Regions from separate parts of the Homo sapiens genome. Here region 1 is linked to region 2. The links are contacts of gene promoters, found by promoter capture Hi-C in human tissues and cell types (Jung and others, 2019). All regions are on one chromosome and are shown on one strand. The core of a region is centred on a gene start or on the middle of the fragment in contact, and the rest is flanking DNA. Distances in the headings are between cores, read along the strand shown. Region 1 overlaps DPF3 (double PHD fingers 3). Region 2 holds the start of DPF3 (double PHD fingers 3).

What was found. The method cuts DNA at HindIII sites, captures the fragments that hold promoters and counts their contacts. A contact is called where the count stands out against the background at its distance.
Region 1: a fragment that was not itself captured here is called in contact with the fragment with the promoter of DPF3 in region 2 in 2 of the 25 tissues and cell types used here (dorsolateral prefrontal cortex and lymphoblastoid cells).

Annotation. Positions count from the first base shown.
Region 1 is chr14:72,625,782-72,633,449 of GRCh38, forward strand. It overlaps DPF3 (double PHD fingers 3), which reads right to left. Exons shown (of 11, transcript NM_001280542.3): 9 at 3,843-3,955. It also overlaps a transcript of RGS6 not described here. Among named protein-coding and RNA genes, the nearest start is that of MIR7843, 110 kb to the left of the region's middle. The HindIII fragment of the contact is 9,871 bases long and covers 611-7,668 here.
Region 2 is chr14:72,892,848-72,900,511 of GRCh38, forward strand. DPF3 (double PHD fingers 3) reads right to left here and starts at 1,254. Exons shown (of 11, transcript NM_001280542.3): 1 at 1,210-1,254. The coding sequence starts at 1,241. It overlaps LOC107984711 (a long non-coding RNA gene), which reads right to left. Exons shown (of 3, transcript XR_001750998.1): 3 at 4,524-4,798. RefSeq lists an enhancer at 1,214-1,508. The HindIII fragment of the contact is 9,541 bases long and covers 1-6,105 here.

The DNA.
Region 1 (7,668 bases), core at 4,296-6,795, 260 kb before region 2:
TGATACCCACTATTCCAAACCAATGCCTTCAATCTAGCCTTCCCCCCTTTATTTGGTTATTCTTTTTCTGACTTTGAGAAACTAGACTCTCATTAGTCACAATACACAGTCATTAGTTCAAATCTAGCATACGTAGTTTCAGAATTACTAATTCATATACCTATGAAAATAAATTAACTAGAGTACAGTATTTGTGGTGCAGTTATTTCTGTCCTTAGCTTTACAACACACAGTCAAAATACTGTTTTCCAAAGTTACTTAGGTTATTCTTTTCTTCCTCACTCTTCGGTATAGTTACATTATCTATTTACGTTATACTGTTTATTTGTTACTGTTTTTATTTCATTTTAGTTTTTCCCTACATCTTGGTTGATTTTAAGTATTTATCTATTTGGGAGGTATGTAAAACCTTATGATGGTTGTAAGAGTCAAAGCTATACAAGAAAGTATTCTCAAAGAAGTGTTGTTTCTCCCTTATCCCTACTATCCCATTTTCATTTTCCCATTTTTCTCTACCCCATTCTCCCAGACCCGTGTAGGTAACCAGTCTCATTAGCATCCTGTTTATTCTTCTTATATTTCTTTTACACAAGTGAGCAAATGCATGTAGGTTTTCTTATGTCTCTTTTTTCTTACAATAAGGTCAGCATACTATAGATATTCTATTTTACTTTGCTTTTTTACTTAATATATTCTGGAAATCACTCCAAATCAATTCATAGACATCTGCCTTATTCTTTTTTACAGCTGTATAGTACTCCACTGTATGGCTGTGCCATTGTTTATTCAACAACTACTCTTCCATATATGGATATTTAGGTTGTTTCCAATATTCTGTAGTAATGAACAATGCTACCACAAATAACCTTATGCATTCCATCATGTTGCAGGTATATCTTCAAGGTAGATTCCTGTAGGTGAGAATGCTTAGTCAAAAGTTAAGTGCATATTAGCTCTGTTAGGTATTGTCAAATTTCCCTCCCCAGGGTTGTACTAATTTGTATTCCCACCAACAATGTATGAAGGCACCATTTTTCCCATAGCTTCATCAACAGGATATATTGTCATACTTTTCAACTTTTGCCCATCTGATAAGTAAGAAATGATATCTCAGCTTTGAGTTTCTTTGTGAGTGCATTTGAACTTTTTTTTTTTTTTGCATCTTTAAGGGTCATTTTTATATCTTTTGTGGGTTGTCTTTCATGTATTTTTCTCATTTCCTATCAGGTTTCTGGTCCTTTGTCCTCAATTTTTAACACTTCTTTTTATATAGGGAATTAGCCCTTAAACTGTGGTACATGCTGCCAAAATTTCCTCCCAGTTTGTCAGTTGTCTTTTGACTTTATCATGTTTTTGACTATGCAAAATGTTTATGTAGTCAGATATACCAACATTTTATTTAATTGCTTCTGGATTTTGAGTCACAGTTTGAAAACCTTTTCCTGTATTTAGATTAAAGAGGAATTTACTTGTGCTTTCTTCTAGTACTAGCGTGGTTTTACTTTGTACATTTAGATCCCCAATGTATTTGGTGATTATTTTTATGTATGGTGTAAGATATAAATCTAATTTTGTCTTTTCTCAAATGGCTACCCCATTGTCCCAGCACCATTCATTTAAAAGTCTGTCTCTGACCCAGTAATTTTAGATGTGACCCTTACCCTATACTGTATTTCCATATGTAGTTGGATCTATTTATGGGCTTTCTATTCTATCTCAGCTGGTCTATTTCTCTCCTCATGCATCAGTGCCACACTGTTTTATCTATAGAGGCTTTACAGTATGTTTTAATATCTGGTAGGGCTAGTTTCCATCACAGTTTGTTTATCAGTATTTTCTTGCCTATTTTTGCATGTTTGTTTCTTCATATGAACTTAAGTATCGATTTGTCTAACTCCATAAAAAAAGTTTGTTGATATTTTTATTGGACCTGAGATAAATTTATAAATTAACTCAGGAAGAACTGACATCTTTATAATGTCAAGTCATTCTATCCAAGATCATAGGATGCCTTTCAATTTGTTCTTTGTGTTTTTGAAAAGTGTTTAAAAGTTTTGTTTATATAGGTTTTGCACATTTGTTGTTAAATATATCCCTAAGTATTTCTTCTTTGTTGCTATTATAAATGGAATTATGTTCTCTAACTGGTTATTGTTTGTATATGAGAAGGCTGTTAATTATGTGTGTTAGTTTTATAATCTGTTACCTTTTATGTTTGAGTTAGCTTATCATTGATTCTCTAAGGTTTTCCAGATATACTATCATATAATACAAAAATAGAGTTTTATTACTTTGTTATCCATTCTTACATCTCTAATTAAATTCTCCTGTCTAATTGCATTAGGTAATGTCTCTAGAATAGTGTCGAATCATAGTTATAGAGATAGTGAGCATCCTCCCCTGGTTCCTAATCTTAGTGGAATTGTGCCTAGTGTTTTCCTCATTAAATAAGATACTGGCTTTAGTTCTAAGGTACAAATACTTTATCATGTTAAGAAGATATCCCACAATCACTATTTTTAATGTTTTTATCATAAATAGATATTTTAACCACACTGTTTTTTTAAAACTGACAAAGGGAAAGAATCAAGCATTTTTTTCCTGCCATTTCTATATGATCTACACCTGAAGGTAACCAAATGAAAGATTGGGCAAGTTTATCTTCCTGGAATTACTCCAGCAATAAACAAAAAAGAAATTATCCAATAAGAATATCACTATTTTGCAACCCCTAACAAAATAGTCAATCCAGTCAAAGGTCATCAATAGATGCTACCTTTACAAAAAGAGAAACATCAGGCATTATACATCCTGATGAAAGTGTACACCACCATCTATGAAGTAGTCTTGCCAAAAGAGAGAGAGAGAGAGAGAGATGGAGACAGAGTTGGTGAGAGGAGAGAGAGAGATAAAGACAGACACAGAAAAAGAGACAGACAATCTGAATCAAGCCTCTAGCCCTAACAATTGACAAGAAATTCAAGAGACAGAGGAAAATGTCAGACAGCACAGAGATATACTCAGTCAAATACAGTCATGAGAACTTGAACAAATGATCTGATTTCTTCAACAAAGAATTTAAGGGAGGAAGAAAGAGAATAAGATGGAGGGAAAAGTCTATGTGTTATTTAAAGAAGCTATATGTAAGTTTATATGCACCTACAGATATTTAAATAAACTTCAAAGACATATCAACTAATTGCAATGTATGGGCCTTATTTGAATCCCAATTCAAATAAACAGGCTGTAATAGAAACATTTATGAGACAACTGAGGAAATATGAGACGACTGGATGTTTGATTGTACTAAGGAATTATTGATTTTTTAGCTATGTAATATTTTGGTTATTTAGGTATAAAAGTAAGTCCTTATCCTTTTGAGATACATATGAAGTAGTTACAGGTAAAAATGATATTATGACGGAGACTATGGAGAGGGAGGTCATGGTATTTATGAAATAAGATTGGACGTGTACTGATCTTTGTCGAAGCTGGTGATGGTTTACATCAATTCTATTATTCTCTCTGCCTTTGTATATGTTTGAAATTGCCCATAATAAAAAATGTTCTTGAAAATTTTGCACTTATTATATTTAACATTTAGACCAAATGAGATCATATACTGTGGAATGTGGTGGAAACAATCAAATACATCCCTGCCATAAGCAGTGTTGACCACTGTCAGTCTCTGAGCCCTCAAGGGCTAATGGCCAGGTTGCTCCCAAGTGCCAGGGTAACAGGCCCCAGGGGCCTAGTGACAAGAGTCCTTCCTTCCTCTTCACCCCTCAAAGGACCCCAGCTCTGTGGATTTCTCCCTCCCACAGGGAAAGCCCCAAACTCACATCATTCTCTGAGGTCCCACAGAGGATACAGGATTTGCACTCTATGCACTGCCACTTGTAGGTCTTGACAGCCTCGGTCATGTTCAGGGTAAACTGCAGGCAGGTTGGGTGACCTGGAGGAAGCCAGAAACAACAGCATTAGGGCCAAAGTATGAACTGCCACCCCTCAACACCACTCACTGGAAACACATTGATGCCCAGTGTGCAGGCAGGGCAGGGTAGCATGACGTAGGGAAAAAAATGGGGACCCAAACAGGGCCCTACCCACATTCTTCACCACCCAGTTATTCAGATCAAGGGCAAAACAGAGATATAAGCACATCCAATTCTGCTTGCACTGAGACCATATTCCCCAGCAGGTGTAACCAGTTGATGAAGATGGAAAACAATGATCAGAGAGAACGAGAGAGGAAACTGCAGAGTACACAGCCTGGGGCAGCACTATGAGAGACACCAGTGGGACCCTCCAAGCCCCAGCATCAGCTATGGCAGCACAACAGGTAAGAACTATTTGGAGCTGGGCCTTCTGATCCAACCAGTTATTCACACTGCCTTAGGGTGCAAGGGAGGCTATCAGAAGGATTGTATGAGGTTTCCAGGGTCAGTGCTCAGGGATAGGATGAGGCATTGCACTGTTACCTAAAGTATCCATGCCCACACTCATGAGACTAGCAAAAGTTCATATCCTGAACAGTACCACGGACTACAGAAGGAAGTGGCCTGGCAGGGATGGCAAAGAAATGGAGCATCAGAGCAAATGGCCAGGTCTATCCTAAAAGGACTGGTTCCCGGTTCTAACTCTTTTCTCCATCCCAAGTTTCATGGGAGCCAACCCAATCACAAGATGAGAGAAGGGACATTAAGCTGTGACCTTCAAGCACAGCCCCCGTGAGCCATGCCCAAGACTTGGCCTGTGGAACTGGACTCTGTCCTCAGACCTAGGTCACCTAAAAGAGAGATGCTTGCAGGGAGAGGACGGCCATGAACTGTAGAATGCAAAGACCCTTGGCCTTCTATGTGGCATGGAAGGATAACTTGGATGACATTCCCAAGTCGCCCAGTACTGTGAAACAGATCAGAATCTGCCCAGAACACCCAGGGCAAAGCCAATTACTGACTCTGTCACAAAAAACATTGACAGCTTTGCCCAGTGCCGAGCACTCACCGTTCTCCAGAGCTTCCAGTTCTGCCAAACCCATTATATGGTGCCTTGTGTTGCCTCTTTCATTTGAAGGATTATATGCTTTAAAGAAGGATGCTAGAGACAGGGGACACCAATCATGGTTAGCACCGCCAACCTAGTATCCTCCACAGACAGGATCCCCCATGGCGCCACCACCCCTTGGCAAAGCCACATCTTAACAGGAGCCCCCATTTCCTCCCTTTCAAATCTTCAGAGAGCTGTTCACATCATGACCATTTGGATGAAATACTGTCTATTCAGCCAACATAAGGATCCTTCACATTTTGAGCTCCACAAATAGAAACCATGCTGAGTTATCTTGGAGAGGGCGAGGGGTGTAGAAATGACTTGTTGGTGGTGGGGAGGGGACACTCAGTGAATACAGGCAGAAGCAGCAAGGAGAGGCCTGATCTAAAAGCTTTTCAAGGACTTCTCAGGTACCATCCAACTTAGAGACTTCCGCAGCTCTGAACTAATAACCCTCTCAAGGTGATACCATCACAGTGGCCCCAAAGAAAAAGAAGCCTTACATTAAAAGCCTGTGTGAACAGCCAGCTGATATTCTTGAAAGCATCTCAAAGATTGGTCTAAGAAGAACATTAGCCAGGGTTACTCCCTATTCCAGTCTCTCAGAGAGAACACTGGGATGGGTACAGGGTAGGAAATATCTGTTTGGGACTCCATGTGGTATGACCACAGATGCCCAGTTTCTCTGACCAGGCACCACTGAGAGCATGAACATGAGGTCATGGAGCTGATGCTCATATAGGCAAGTTGACTTTGGCCAGTTCTGTGCCACACCCCAGCCACACCCAGCCAGCTTAGGATAACTATTCATTAACTTACGAAGTACTTATTGAGCACCTACAAGGCAGGCCATTGTGCTAGACAGAAAAGACACAGTGGGGATGAGCAAGATACCTTGAGCCCTTCCAGCCTAGCCAAAGAGGCCTCAGATTAATCAGCTACACATGTATCTATCAACTACAATTGTATAATTAGTGCCATGAAGGAAAAGCATAATTGGCCGTAAAAACACATAGAAGAACCTAACCTAGACTGAGATGACAAGGAAACCTTCCCTGAGAAAGATCTTTAAGCTGATATGTGTCAGATGAGACGTTAGCTAGGTGGGAAGAGGAGGATTCCAAGTAAGGGGAACAGCATGGGTGGAGGCTTTGAGCAGTGAAGCAGCTTAGCAAATTACAAGGAAGAGAAAGGCCAGTGAGCAGAGGCTTGATGAGCAAAAGGAAAGGGGTAAGAGGTAGCTGCAGAGGTAGCTGGAGAAGGATTACAGGCATTTGCAGCCCTTATTTAAGAATCTGTTTTTTAAGTCATTAAAGGCTATTAAGCAAGGCAGTAAGTGGGTCACATTTTGTTTTTAAAGGAGCACTCTTTAGCATGAGTGCTATTGGGATGAAGTGGTTCTGTATCTTGATTGTGGTGGTTACATATGTGATAAGATTGCATAGAACTGTACATACACATACACATATGTATTTGTACATGTAAAACTAGTCACATCTGAATAAAGTCTATGATTGCATTAATATCAATTGCCTGGTTTTGATATTGTGCTATAATTACATAAGATGTTGCCCTTGGAGAAAACTGAGTGACGAGCTCAAGGACTTTTTGTAATATATTTTGTAACTTCCTATGAAGCTATAATTATGTCAAAATAAATAGTTGAAAATATATTTTTAAATAAGGAAAACAAATAAAAAATTAAATCATCAAAAAGAAAGGAAGGTGGAAGGCAGATAAGAAAAAGGAGAGAGAGAGGAAGGAGGGAAGGAAGAAAGGAAGGAAGGAAGGAAAGAAGCAGGAGGAAGGGAGGGAAGGAGGGAGGGAAGGAAAGAAGGAAGGAAGGAGAAGGGAAGAGATGAAAGGGACAGAAGGGAAGGAAGGGAAGGAAGGGAAAGAAGGGAAGGAGGGAAGGATGGAGGGAGGGGAAGGGGAGAGAAGAGGGGAAGGGGATGGGAAGGAGAGAGGAAGAGGAGGGGAAGGGAGGGGAAGGGGAGGGGAAAGGGAGAGGGGAGGGGGAAGGACAAGAGAAGGGGAGGGGAAGGGAGGAAGGAAGGATGAAGGGGCTGTACGCTAAGGAAAGAATTGTTGAGGGGTGGGAGGGTACAGGAATGTAAGAATTGTTGCCAGGAAGCTAGTTAGGAGGCTAATGCAGCTACCAGGAGAGATACAAGAATGATTCAACTAAGGTGGAAATTTGAGAAATGTTAAAGAAATACTTGACAGGACTTGACTATTGTTTGAATGTTGGGAATATGGGAAAATGATGAGAAATAATCCCAAGTTCTGACCCATGAAACTAGGTAGATTGTAGATTACAGTGAAACTTAGATGAGAAAGACTGTAGAAGGATTGCAGGGACCACATAGAGGAAGAGGATTCCTTCTGTGTTGAGCATGCTGAAACTGAGAATTCTGGTGGAAATGTTGAGTGGATAGTTGAATGTATGGGTCGAAATTCAGAAGTTTTTGCTAAATAGGTGATAAGTGAAACCATGAGAATTAATGAAATTATCTAGGGAAAAGGGAATGAGGAAGTATCTAGGGAAAGAAAGGAAGAGGAGAGAAGAAAGGAGAATAGAGAAAAGGGTCTAGGACTGAGCTTGGAGGAGCTCAA
Region 2 (7,664 bases), core at 4-2,503:
CAATAGCACCCCTTTCAGAGCGACACTAGTTTTCCGAGGCCACCCCTGGCTCCGCGATCGCGAGCGGACTTGGCGGCTTAACAGTTCCACTGACTGGAAGGAAGGAAGGAAGGAAGGAAGGAAGGAAGGAAGGAAGGAAGGAAGGAAGGAAGGAAGGAAGGAAGGAAGGAAGGAAGGATGAAAAGGAGGAGGAAGGCAGGCAGGCAGAAATTGGCTGTTGGACCCGGGGCTGGCCCCCGCGAGTCCTCGCCCGGCCCGCCCCACTCTGTCCAGGATCTGGGCAAGCGCTCAAAGTCTCCCCGAGGCGGCCAGAGGCACCTGCCCCTCGCCCGGCCGGGAGCAGACGCTGCCCCCTCGGGCCAGGAGCCCCAAAACCGCCTCTCCGCCTGCCTCAGCGCCTCACCCAGAGGTGGCGAGAACACCATTCATAAGACCTGCGGCTTCCCTGCCTCCAAATCCACCCCAAGTTAACCCGAGTCGTTAATCCACTAAAGCCAGCTCGCTCGCAAATACACGAGCAGACACACGCTCGATCGCCCGGAGCGCCTCCGAGATCCGGGGGCTGCCGGGGAAAGCCCGGGGCGACCACCTGGGCCCCAGCACGCCCGGGACCCGCTGCTTCCCCCGCGGTGCTCCAACTCCGGAAGGTTTGCACAAACTCCCCGCGAGCGATCGGAAGGCGAAGAGCGCCCTGCAAACTCCGGAGCCTCCGCGGTCCGTCCGCTGGACCCAGCGGACCCAGCGGCGGGGCGGGGGCCGCGGGCTCGGGGGCGCGGGGCTCGGCCAAGTACACCGAGGCGGCCACTGCCCGACGCTCGCCCCCCGCCCAGCAGCCCCCGAAGCCGCGCTCCCTGCCCGCGAGGCGGGGGACTCCGGGGACCGCGCCGTCCCCGAGCTCCCGCGACCCTCCTGCTGTAGAGCGCTCGAGCGCCGGGCTTCTCCGCCTGCAACCCCTATATCTGGCTCTCTCTGCAATTTAGCAGAACACAAATGTAACAATTTTCTTCTTGTTAATTGCATCTCCTGACATTTCTGCGCGTTGGGGGAAAAAAAGAAGATGAAGAAGTAAGAGCTGAAAGAAGAGAGAAGCCCCGCCGCGGCTGGAGGCGCCTGCAAGCGCAATGCTCTGGCAGCGCTCGCCACGCAGAAGGCGCCTTTTTTTTCATATTGAAACCACGCGGAATATGTACATTTTTTAGTCTTACTTACGCTTTCAGGGGGTTGTGAATGACAGTCGCCATTTTGCTACAATGTAACAGAATATTGTCTCAGAGTTCTAAAGGTTCGCTCAGGGGAAGCGACGGGCCAATCACAGCGCGGGATACCGGCCCGCCGGCCAATCGGCGCTGCTGGTAGCTAGGTGGGCGGGGCCTGCGCCGTGGTAGTTATTAGGAGAGCTGTCAAAGCCCAGAGGTCACTCCCTTTTGTAGAGCCCGAGAGCCAGCAGGTCTTAAAGGGGCAGTACAGCGCTGGTAGCTCCTTTTCGGGCTGGGGAAAGTGGAGACGCACGGGAGAGTATTATAGTTTGGTTTAACTCCCTACTTTTCTAAATAACTGCAGAAGAGTTTGCGCTCCCGGACAGAAATATTTAAATATTGCCAGCAAGCCACTGAATCCTATTCATTAGCCTTTGGCTTTGCGTATCAACATTTTTAATCCCCCAAAGGGTAAATCCCCGTGTTTCAGTGCAAAAGTTGGAAGGCTGCCGTTTCGTGTTAACAAATTACTACATGTGCTCTGCCGTTTGCTAATGCTCTGGGTCCTGCCGCTTTTTAATATTCTTATTCCCGAAGTGTTCTCTTTATCTCGGCCACCTTCCTCTCTCGCTTCTTGGAACTGTCGCTGCTGTTCCTGGCGACTCCAGGACAGCAACTCACCCTCCCCCTGGAACGTCTCAATGTCAGGCTCGCTCCCTCCTGCAGCCAGGGCTTTCCTTACGTAGTGCAGGGGGGTTACTCTGCGCGGTTCCCCGCTACCACCCCTTCGGTTCTTCCCTCTACACCAGAAACTTCCAAAATGCTCAGATTCCTGCTAGGTGGTGGGACCTGGAGCTCTGATCTTTAGGCTTAGGGGTAGGGAGGACTTAAGGCAACCTTTGGAAACTTTCTACTGCTAGGAAGCAAGTGACTAGGCAGAAGTTGTAGAGCCTGGACTGGGTGTTATCAGGGTCCCTTTAGAGGAGTGGCACACGCGATTCTGGCGTCACCTTTCACTACTTAGATAGAAGGTGGAAAGAATTTGCTAATGAATAATCCGATGTGACCCGAGGCGTCCAATGAGTCTGTGTCTGCTTCAAGTCAGTGTGAACTCTTCACTGGCGAGCCCCTGACAAAATTGGGAGACTTCTGCGAAGTCAGGCTTCCACTGGGCACCGGGAAGCTCTGGGGGGATGAAATCGCATTAAATCGCGAATAGGGTAGGGGCCTCGTTAGCATACAGAAGTCTGGCTACCATTCCAAAGCTGTTTAATCAGATCAAATAGCTAAGATAGTGGGGGAGGGGTGGCAAGGGGAGAGAAGTTGCCAAATTGCCAGTTCTTCAAAGCTATGCCCTCTCGCTTCCTTTTGCTCCTCTCAAGACAATGAATAAAATAAAATAAACATTCCAGAATTTTAAGAGTTCAACTACATACACTATTAGATTTACAGATAAACAGAACGTGGCTGAATCACTATGTTTTTAAAAGATTTGAAATCTTTAACTCCTCTCTGCGTATTTAAGAAGCAGAATTGAGTTCTATAGATTCCTTTGTAAATCCTTTGCATAGCATCTTGGCAGAGATTACAGTTTGAAAAAGTTATCTCCTTTTCCAAAATTGAAGTTTGAAAAATCCCTTCTTTACTAATTTGACAAGAAATTGGTTCAGAAGCCTATACTTTGCCTGAGGTGGGCCTTGACATCATTGAAAAGCAAGAACTGTATTCTGACCCAAGAAGTATGAGTTTGAATTATCAGTTAGAACTCCCAATAACCTCTTTGAGGTATCAAAGACACAACAATTCAGATTAGTAGACGACAACGTATTTTCTTACATGCAGCCTGATAAAGGAGGAAATGTAGAGCATGTCCTGAACAAGATTTACAATGGGGGAAGAGAGAAAAAACAAATGTATATTACATATTAAAGAAAACACATACTCTAAGCATGTACATATCATTTATTGTGTTAAGGCCTGGATGCAGAAACCAGCATAATCTCTAACTACCTAACGAACTTGAAAATGTCAGATCAGATTTATTGATTGGATTGGAAAATAGTGAATTAAAGACAGTACTTTAAAAAAAAAAAAAGGATAGCCTTGCTTTTTGTAACCCAATGGAATGTCATTTTAACTCTATCAATACAGTTATGACTTTTAAAGAAACACTTATATTTAACAAAAGAGTTATTTTACTTTAATGTTTACATTATAGATCAAAATATAAAGATTTCTTTTTTTTTTTTTTTTTAACCAGAAGGTTCAAAAGCAAAGAGTAGGCATGTTTAAAGAGGACAGTATCCTTAAACAGTTTTGGAGAAGTTTGGCAGTTCTGGGGCAATTTCATAGTGCTGTACATGGCAGAAGTATGAGCTCTGGAATCTACCAGCCTGAGTCCACTATTTACCAGCTGGGTTACCTTGGGCATATTTACTTGCCAGGATTAAATGAGGTAATACATGTCAAGTGTCTGACACACAGCAAGCTTTCAATCCATGTTATTATTTCTTACAGAGATAATTAATTCTTTCCTTACGGCATATGGAATGTAGGGAATCCAAAAAACAAGGCACAACAGAAAGTGAAATTAGCCATCACATTTAGTTTTCTAAACTCATTAATCCAAGAAAAATGAGCAAATGGACAACTTGGATTAGAATAAAATAATAAATAAGAATGATGTTTCAATGAGGGGTCACATAACTATATAACCCTAAAAAAGGCTTCTTGCTGATTGTGATACCAAAACACTTTTTAAATTTTTTTTTTTTTTCTGAGACGGAGTTTCACTCTTGTTGCCCAGGCTGGAGTGCAGTGGTGTGATCTCAGCTCACTGCAACCTCCACCTCCCGGGTTCAAGCGATTCTCCTGCCTCAGCCTCCCGAGTAGCTGGGATTACAGGTGCCCACCACCACGTCCAGCTAATTTTTTGTATTTTTAGTAGAGACAGGGTTTCACCACGTTGGCCAGGCTGGCCAGGCTGGTCTCGAACTTCTGAATTCAGGTGATCCACCCATCTCAGCCTCCCAAAGCCCTGGAGTTTTTTGTCGTTGTTGTTATTGTTTTCAGACAGGGTCTTGCTCTGTTGCTCAGGCTGGAGTGCAGTGGTGCAAACACAGCTCAACATAACTCACTGCAGCCTCAAACTCTTGGGGTCAAGTGATCCTCCCACTTCAACCTCCCAAGTAGCTGAGACCACAGGACAAACCACCATACTCAGTTCATTTTTTAATTTTTTGTAGAGACCAGGTAACACTATGTTGCCCAGACTGATCTCAAACTCCTGGACTCATATGATCCTCCCACCTCAGCCTCCAAAAGTTCTGGGATCACAGGCATGAACTACCGCACCCATAGCCTAAAATCCCATTTCTAAAGCTCCATAGCTATTCATATATTTGAATACACTTCATTGTATTCTATCCCTTTTATCTTGATTTAGCTAGTTAGGCAGCTTAATTTGGAGAGCAGAGTGGCCCCAGAATAATCACCTCCACATCTCACCTGGAGAATGTTGAGCTTCACTGTCCAATATAGGAGCCATGGGCCACAGGTGACTACTGAGCACTTGAAATGTGGCTACTCCCAATTGAGATGCGCTGTAAGTATAAAACAATGCACCTGATTTCAAAGACTTAGGACAAATAGAAGGTAAAATATCTCATTATAATTTTTACATTGATCATTTGTTGAAATGATATTTTGGATTTACTGGATTAAAGAAAATATGTTATGAAGACTAATTTCACCTATTTCTTTTTACTTTTTTTTAATGTGGCCACTAGGAAATTTTAAATTGTACATGTGGATGGCATTGTATTTTTATTGTACAGTGTTGCACTGTACAATAAAATGAAGAGATCTGCCTTTTTGCACTGTACAATAAAAACATATAAGAAGTGTGTGTCACCAGGGAAAGAAGTGTGGGGACCATTCTCAACCATATTAACTCACCCTTGATGTCAGTGAGTGAAACTCCCTGGCCCAGCTCAAGTATTTGTTGAATGCCATCCGTTTGAAGGAACACTGGGCACAACCAAGGACCCAAGAACCTAAGCCAAAAGGACATCCATCTCTCTTTTTCTTAATTATTTATTTTATTTTTTGAGGCTGGAGTACAGTGATCCGATCTCGGCTTACCACAACCTTTGCCTCCCGGGTTCAAGCGATTCTCCTGTCTCAGCCTCCCAAGTAGCTGGGATTACAGGCACCTGCCACCACGCCCAGCTAATTTTTGTATTTTTAGTAGAGACAGGGTTTCACCATGTTGGCCAGGCTGGTGTCGAACTGCTGACCTCAGGTGATCCACCCACCTCGGCCTCCCAAAGTGCTGGGATTACAGGCATGAGCCACCACACCCAGCCCCCATCCCTCTTTACTCCTAAAAAGTTTGAGGGCTGTTTCAGCAGACAACACAAAGCTATAAGAAACCCATCCAGAAGCAGGAAAGAATGGCATTTCCGTAGCAAGTGCCAACCTTTCCAGCTGACTTTTTAAAGGCACATGTAAACATGAGAGAGAAGTAAGAGAAGGAGACACAGGCCTTCCAAACAGCCAAAGAGTTCATTTGAAAGAGGAAGTGTGCCACAAAAGCCATCCAAAACAAATGCAGTTCCTAATGGACTTCAAGAGCTGAAGGGGTTTTAAGTCCCATGGGGATTAAAAACAAGAACAAGCTCACCCTCAATCCCTCCGTCCATCCACAGAGCAACCAGCCATGGCCTCAGCGACTGGTTGGCTGTGCTGGTTCCCTGAGATCCAGAACCAGCTCTGATATGTTCCTCCAGGCACTGAGCTGAAGAGGAAGAGGAATCCTTTGGAAGAAAAGGGAGCATCAAAACTGCGATCTAATTTTCTCTGTTCCTGGGGGAATGTTGGGAGAGGAGTTTTTAGGCCCTTCACAGTATCTCAGTGTGTACAAACACACACACACAATCAATTTCTCAGGATGCGAGATGCTCCTGGGGTAGTCCTTTGAAACCTCATAATTCAGGGCAGAGTCAAATAGAATCAATGTTTACTGCTGCTCACTAACTTAGTTCATTCATTCATTCATTCATTCAGTCACTGGAGGCTTTCTCTAAGGGAGGCATTGCGCTAGGCACAGGTGGCAAAATAAAAATAAACCAGATGTGGAAACAATTCTCAAAAAGCAATTTCCATCCATCTGGAGACAGAATAAAGACAGTAGGCCCAACCCTGTGAGCAAGTAGAGCAATTACTTGATGTGACTTAAAAGGAAGCAGCAGCCTGCCCAGCCAGTCTTCTTTTCCTGGCCTGGTGCCCGTAATCCAAAGGGTTCATCCTTGAGTGTTTGTTGAATGCATTCACTCCTTTGGGTTTTCAAGGTTTCAAGGTATTGAGATTTTCACAGATTTGTACAAAACAAAGGAGAAGAAGGAGAAGTGATACATATCAAAGAACGTCAGTGGAGGGAGGGGGTAGTTCTTGAGCATTTCTAACGCTGGTCGAGGGAAAGACTTCAAGGAGAAGGTCATATTTAAATTGGGCCTTGCTTGGGGAGCTCTTAGAAATAAGCCAAGGGGTGAAAGGCCTTCTACACCAAAACCATAACCTAGCAACAGCTAATTCATATAGCAAATATTTGTAGATTATCTACTGCTGGGCCTTGGAGTACAGAAAGACCTAAGAAAACCCCCATAACCCCACTTTAAAGGGATCATATTTGAGAGATGGGGTGGGAGGAGAAGGCAGTTACAAGGCAGAAACAGGAAGCCACGGAGCTCAGGGCACTGTGGGGCTGGATGAAGAGCACCTGCCAGAACACAGAAGGTCAGGATCGTCTTCCTAGAAGAGCTGATGCCTGAGCTAAGTCCCGGATGACCTGGAGGAGGAAAGGGTGTCCCTACAGAGATGGCAGCACCTTCAGGGAAGTGGGAGAGGGCACTGTGATTTCAAGAGATCCCTCTGGTAGGAAGGTAATTTATGCAGAGGGATGAGTGAGACAGAGAAAGCAGAAGCAAGGAGCGGGTGTTATTGCTAAAAAATGTGTTTCATCTGGGAGGCCATCAGGCAACACCAAAAGATTTTAAGCTAGGAGTGAAAATGAAGACATCTGCCTTTTTTTACAAGTTCATTCCAGCAGCAGCATGACCATGGATTGAAAGCTGAGCTGCAGGCCTGGGAACCTGTTAAGGGGCTGTGGCAGCCCAGGATGAGGTATACAGGGCAGAATCAGTGGCTTCTAAGGAAGTAGAATCGGCAGGACTTGGTGACTGGCATGCTGTGGGTTTGAGGGACACAGGAGGGGCCCTGGATGATGCACCTGGGAATGGACATTGGTCAGCTTGGTCTTGACTGGAGAAACACACAGTCAAGGCCAAGGCCTGAGGGCTGGAGGCCAATGAAGCACTGAGATTTTCTGTCATGGAGCAGGGGTTTGCCTTACTAGAAAACCTTAATCCTCCATCCCCAACACTTCCCTAATGTTGGTATAAATCTATC